Linked DNA regions of Homo sapiens: region 1 is linked to region 2. Evidence: promoter capture Hi-C in human tissues and cell types (Jung and others, 2019). All regions are on one chromosome and are shown on one strand. The core of a region is centred on a gene start or on the middle of the fragment in contact, and the rest is flanking DNA. Distances in the headings are between cores, read along the strand shown. Region 1 has its middle 100 kb from the start of ROCR. Region 2 holds the start of SOX9 (SRY-box transcription factor 9).

Region 1 (3,237 bases), core at 220-2,719, 200 kb before region 2:
CAAGCCAGAATAAGTGTCTGAACCACATACTTCCTGGGTGCCTACTGTTCTAAGCACTATGCTGGCTGCTGGGCGAATAAAAGCTGGTAAACAAGAGAGGCATGATCATTGGTTTTACAGATTTTTCATCTAGAGAGTGAGAAAGTCATTCAGGAAATAGTCATCCAAATGTGTCAAGTACTGTGAAGGGCAAGTGCTGGGTATCGTGACATCATAAAGTGGAAGGACCTAATTTAGGTAAGGTAGAAAGGGGAAAGATATCAGCAAAGGTCTGAACTTGTTACAAAAACCTTATTTTCCATTGCACACTCAAAATCTCACAAAAGTGACATAAAAGACAATCTGAGTGAGCAAAGGAGTGAGGGTTGATTGATTCATTGGAGTTTTAATTTTTATCTTGTTTGAAAGTACCTTTTTTTTTTTTTCTCCAGGTAAATGGGATACAGGATTCCACTGAGAAAACAGAATCAACAAGAGAGAGTAGACAGAGGCTTTCTGAACTGGAAGTCAACATGAGGCAGCTACCATAAAGCCATGGAGTAACTATCAGTGAGTTTCTGCCATCAGGTGGGAAGAATTCTCTTTGCTTATGTCATGGTGAAGGGATATCAGGTGACTGAAGCAGAAATTCACCCAGAAGCCCTGAAGCTGGAGGCACATGCTTTCAGTCTTTATTGCAATTCTCAGGAGCCCACATCCTGTTTTCTCCCAGGCTCTGAACTCATCTGCATAGTCAGAATGTTCCTTCCAGCTCTGGGTCTCTGTGCTGGGTTGGGAACTATTTTAATAGCCCCTTGATGCCTCATAGGTTTACTATGAATGGCATTGTGCAAGAGGGGCCCAGCTCCTGGTGTCTGTTAAATTATACTACTATTTTGCACCTTGAATTTCCATACACAGAGCAAAATGTAAAGCCCTCAGTCCTTCTTACCTATAGAAGAACCAAGACTAGGACTCAGGCTTCCTGATTCCTTGCCGGAATCCTTGCTAAAGCGTTTATTTTTGTATCTGTGGGTAGCAAGGGGAAAAAGGTACCTTATCTTTTCCAGATTTGAGGTTTGTAAAATATTATGTGCCCTTGTCTAAATTGCAGTGTCACTTTCTACAGTATATTTGTATTATTAAAAATTGATCAAGTTAAATGACTGGTAAAATACGTGGTATAGCACCAAACAATTGCCGAGTGAGCTTAAATGCATTTCCAGTACCTGCTGTCACAAAATCTCCTGTGAGCATCAGGAAAATGCTAAGGTTTTATTTACCATAGTAAGAGTCATCTTAAACATATGCAAAATGCATTTAGCCTAATATAGGCTATAAGTGGATAACTGTTTAAACTAAATGTTTCATTTAACTGCCCTTATTAAGTGCTCTAAGAACACAGGATATAGAATCACAAATTGCAGACTTGGAAACGGTCATCCAGTCCAACCCCTTATCAGGTGTTTAAATGTCTCTAGTGATAGAGGTCTCACTACCTCCTAAACAGCCCATTAGGCAGCTTTGAATTTTAAAAGCTGCAATCCAGAAGAGCAATAAGAAAGAAAAAAAAAAGTCTCCAACTCGACTTCAATGTACAGAATAGACAAGTTACCAAGAATACAAAATGGCATTTTACCAGGATTGTTAAATGAAGAAATCATCTGTTAAATAAATAAAACATTGCCTTAAATGGGAGCAGAGATGATGTAGAGCTAATACACCAAGACGTTAGTTTAACAAATGTTTATTGAATATTTATTATATACCTAGCATGGCTGTAGGCATTAGGGATAAAATAATGAATAAAATGGACTATGTTCTGGTAGCTTGTAATAGAATAGGTTGTGTAAGGATGGTTTGTACAAGTAATGATAGTAAGCAGTTTTTGTGCTACATGCCAAGTTTCAAGTTTTGTTCTAAGCATTTTATGTATGTTTATGTATTTGAACTTCATGACGATCCTACTGAAAGGTACTCTTATTACCCTGTTGTACTCCTCTATATGAGAAGACTGGAGTTTTCCCCAAAGTCCTGAAACTAGCACATGAAGAGACCGTGTTGTTCATCCAGGCATCTTAGCTTCAAGCTTCATCTCTTAGTCATAGTGCTTGGCTGTCTTTTAGAAAAGGAGGGGAGGGCCAGGCGGGGTGGCTCACGCCTGTAATCACAGCACTTTGGGAGGCCGAGGCAGGCAAATCACCTGAGGTCAGCAGTTCGAGACCAGCCTGGCCAACATGGTGAAACCCTGTCTCTACTAAAAGTACAAAAGTTAGCTGGGCCTGGTGGCACGTGCCTGTAATCCCAGCTACTCGGGAGGCTGGGGCAGGAGAATTGCTTGAACCTGGGAGGCGGAGGTTGCAGTAAGCCCAGATTGGGCCACTGCACTCCAGTTCCAGCCTGGTGGATAGAGTGAGACACTGTCTCAAAAAAATTAAAAAGGAAAGGAGAGAGAGAGAGAAAGAAAAACAAAGAAAGAAGGAAAGAAAGAGAGAGAGAGGAAGGAAGGAGAAGGGGAAGGGGAAGAGGGAAAGGAGGGAGGGAGGAAGGAAGGAAAGAAAAGAAAAGAAAAGTAAAGAAAAGAAAAGAATAGAAAAGAGAAAAGAAAATAAAAGGAAAAGAAAAGAAAAGAGAGAGATGTTGCATGCGGTGGCTCACGCCTGTAATCCCAGCACTTTGGGAGGCAGAGGCGGGCGGATCACGAGGTCAGGAGATCGAGACCATCCTGGCTAACACAGTGAAACCCTGTTTCTACTAAAAATACGAAACATTAGGCGAGCATGGTGGCGGGCGCCTATAGTCCCAGCTACTCGGGAGGCTGAGGCAGGAGAATGGTGAGAACCCAGGAGGCAGAGCTTGCAGTGAGCCGAGATCGCACCACTGCACTCCAGCCTGGGCGACAGGGTGAGACTTGGGGAAAAAAAAAAAAAAGAAAGAAAGAAAGAAAGGGAGGGAGGAAGGAAAGGAAAGGAAAGGAAAGGAAAGGAAAGGAAAGGAAAGGAAAGGAAAGGAAAGGAAGAAAGAGAGAGAGAAAGAAAGAAAAGTAGGGGCGGGGGTGTTGTTTGATCAAAGGGGAACTACTGAGGCTGTGGGGTGGAGGCTTCCTGGAGGAAATAACCATGATGTATGACCTGATAGTCAAATAAGAGAAATAAATGAAGTTTGCTGCAGGTGGAGGCAGTAGAGGGGAGTTCTTCTGCCAAAGCAATAACAGGTACCCAGGCTCAGGGGAGTAGGAGAGCCCGACATGTATAAGAA
Region 2 (3,155 bases), core at 614-3,113:
ACAGTTATACTGTACACACAATGCCCTTCTACCCGGGACACAGAAATAGGTCCACACTACGCGGACTTTTTTCTCCTAGGAAAGGACGATGCTGTTCTTACACTTTCTGAAAGTAATCACAGAGCCCTGGATACGAAGCTATTGTATGCAAATCTCTTAAATTTGTAAACGAGCTATAGGGCACCAGAAACATCCCATTTGAAGAAGTTACATTCGTTAAAAAAAAAATGCTGTTGAACAAGGCTGTAACTTACTACCTTATGAAGAGTTCCATTTCCTATAAGAAATGTCGGGCTTCTTCCGAAGACAACGAGAGAAAACAAGATTTTAAGAAATTCTCCCGGAAGGACATTGATTTGGATCTTGTGATAGTGTCCTCACTTCGCAAATTAGAAAGGGAAAAAAAAACTAGTTTTTATTATGATGTGGGCCGATTCACCACAACAATAATTTAATTGAGGCGAATTTTTGCAAGAGCCCAAAAGGGTGGGGGGGGGGGGGGAGTTTAAAATTAAGAGTTTCCCAATGCTGTGCGTTTATTTGGGATTCTGAAAGCACAGAACCCGCAAGCGACCAAGACTTTTCTTCTATCCCAGAGCAGATAGCTCCGCACTTACCCAACCTGGCTCTAAGCATTTCGTGTAAACACAAAGGTTGTGCTCAAATCACACTTGAAATACATGAGAGACACCACCAATGCCTCCCCCAGAACTCCCAACTACATGCAGGTCTGAACCGACCGGACTAGAGTCAGAAGCACCGGCGCTTCACCCCTTCAGGTGTTTCGTAAATGCCAGCAAAAGCAGGCAAGCAGCATGACTCCGCCAGAGTGGAGCGTTTTGTCTGCGGTGGTGCCCATTTGTTTGGTCTTTTACAAACCAAGTGACCGGCCTGGGCCTCGCGGCCCGGGACAGCCGCATTGGCAAACTTCTATCTCTCAAAGCCAGAGCAGTTAGCAAACTCTCCCCCAGACAGGGCGACTCGGCTGACGTTTTTGACCCGGCCAGGAGGCAAAGACCAAAACGTCAGAGCAGTAGCCCTGTTACTGAGGAGCGTCGGCAGGGTCGCGGGTAGAGGGGGCTGGAGAATGACTTGTCAGAGCTCAAGGTCGATGTGGCGCGGGGCGGCCTCGAGAGCGCCGGGCTCCTGCGTGGCCACGGCCGCCGCTGCCAACCTTCGCGGGGACTTAGCTTTGCTTTCCATTGACTCCCTTTGCAAAAGCGCAGCAGAATCCTGACCAGCCGCACCAGCCCCGGCGAACCCGAGCATGTTAATCTATTTATATGGATTATTACGGAGGAACAGCGGGCGTTGAGTCACCAAAACATTTGCTTCAAAAGACTATTTCTAAGCACTTTTGCAGGCAGGCAGGCTCGCTCCAGGCGCGTAAACTCGGCTACGCATTAAGAAGCGGCTGCTTTTCGAATACTGCAAACTCCAGCTAAGTCCCCGGTGCCGCGGAGAGAGCAGTGAAAAGAAATGTCGGAGGTGGGGGTAGATCCTAGTCTAGACACACACACTTGCGCGCACACACACACACACACACACAAGATTCGCGCGGAGAAGGCACTAAAATTCTGGCATTCCGAGAGTACGACAAACTTACACACTTGGAAGTCCCGGGTCCCCCGCCTTCCCCGCAGCACCCCCCGCCCCCCCACCCTACCGTCCGCCCTTTGGCTGCGATCCCCTCCCCTCTCCTCCCCTCCCGCCTCGTCACCCAGCCCAGTGCCACAATCCTCCTCCCTCCCCAAAATCGGGTCCAATCAGCTGCCTGCCAACCCTGGGACTGCTGTGCTGTGATTGGCGGGTGGCTCTAAGGTGAGGCGGAGTATTTATTAAAGAGACCCTGGGCTGGGAGTTGGAGAGCCGAAAGCGGAGCTCGAAACTGACTGGAAACTTCAGTGGCGCGGAGACTCGCCAGTTTCAACCCCGGAAACTTTTCTTTGCAGGAGGAGAAGAGAAGGGGTGCAAGCGCCCCCACTTTTGCTCTTTTTCCTCCCCTCCTCCTCCTCTCCAATTCGCCTCCCCCCACTTGGAGCGGGCAGCTGTGAACTGGCCACCCCGCGCCTTCCTAAGTGCTCGCCGCGGTAGCCGGCCGACGCGCCAGCTTCCCCGGGAGCCGCTTGCTCCGCATCCGGGCAGCCGAGGGGAGAGGAGCCCGCGCCTCGAGTCCCCGAGCCGCCGCGGCTTCTCGCCTTTCCCGGCCACCAGCCCCCTGCCCCGGGCCCGCGTATGAATCTCCTGGACCCCTTCATGAAGATGACCGACGAGCAGGAGAAGGGCCTGTCCGGCGCCCCCAGCCCCACCATGTCCGAGGACTCCGCGGGCTCGCCCTGCCCGTCGGGCTCCGGCTCGGACACCGAGAACACGCGGCCCCAGGAGAACACGTTCCCCAAGGGCGAGCCCGATCTGAAGAAGGAGAGCGAGGAGGACAAGTTCCCCGTGTGCATCCGCGAGGCGGTCAGCCAGGTGCTCAAAGGCTACGACTGGACGCTGGTGCCCATGCCGGTGCGCGTCAACGGCTCCAGCAAGAACAAGCCGCACGTCAAGCGGCCCATGAACGCCTTCATGGTGTGGGCGCAGGCGGCGCGCAGGAAGCTCGCGGACCAGTACCCGCACTTGCACAACGCCGAGCTCAGCAAGACGCTGGGCAAGCTCTGGAGGTAGGACCCGGCGGGGGCGGCGCGGCAGGGTGGGCATCGCGGCGGCTGGGGGCGCTGGTCAGGGCTGATTTGCCCCGCCCCGCCTCCCATCGCCCGGGAGTTGCCGTTCCGGGAGCCGGCGGGATGGGGTTGGGAGTGGGAATGGGGTGTAACTGTGGCTCAGAGTTTGACAAAGTTCTTGGGCTGCTCGCGGGGACGCGGAGGAGGGGGGTGGTAAGTGGAAGAGGTGAGGGAGGTAGCTGGAGGATGGACGAAGACTGGTGGGAGACGGAAGGAGGGGGCTGCCAGCCTGCTCTCCAGTCGCCTGGAAGCTCAATCGGGGCGGGGAAGTGAAACTTGCCTCCCTCCTACCCGGCCTCTTAAAACTGCACTCTCTCGTGCAGCCCCACTGTCCACGGAGATGGGGCAAGGGAGAAACCGAGGTTGGAGGAGACCCTTGGCAGGAACTGGGAGGCGGGAGGAGGGAGGCTACTGGAAATAGGTGGGAGT

The links. Contacts are between HindIII fragments. The study calls those that stand out against the background at their distance.
Region 1: a contact is called between a fragment that was not itself captured here and the fragment with the promoter of SOX9 in region 2, in 2 of the 25 tissues and cell types used here (dorsolateral prefrontal cortex and lymphoblastoid cells).

The regions. Positions count from the first base shown.
Region 1 is chr17:71,921,918-71,925,154 of GRCh38, forward strand. No RefSeq gene overlaps it. Among named protein-coding and RNA genes, the nearest start is that of ROCR, 100 kb to the right of the region's middle. RefSeq lists a silencer at 1-64. The HindIII fragment of the contact is 4,555 bases long and covers 1-3,237 here.
Region 2 is chr17:72,119,157-72,122,311 of GRCh38, forward strand. SOX9 (SRY-box transcription factor 9) reads left to right here and starts at 1,864. Exons shown (of 3, transcript NM_000346.4): 1 at 1,864-2,666. The coding sequence starts at 2,236. It also overlaps a transcript of SOX9-AS1 not described here. RefSeq lists an enhancer at 527-1,027, promoters at 1,129-1,896, 1,751-1,896 and silencers at 1,510-1,839, 2,750-2,849. The HindIII fragment of the contact is 7,134 bases long and covers 1-3,155 here.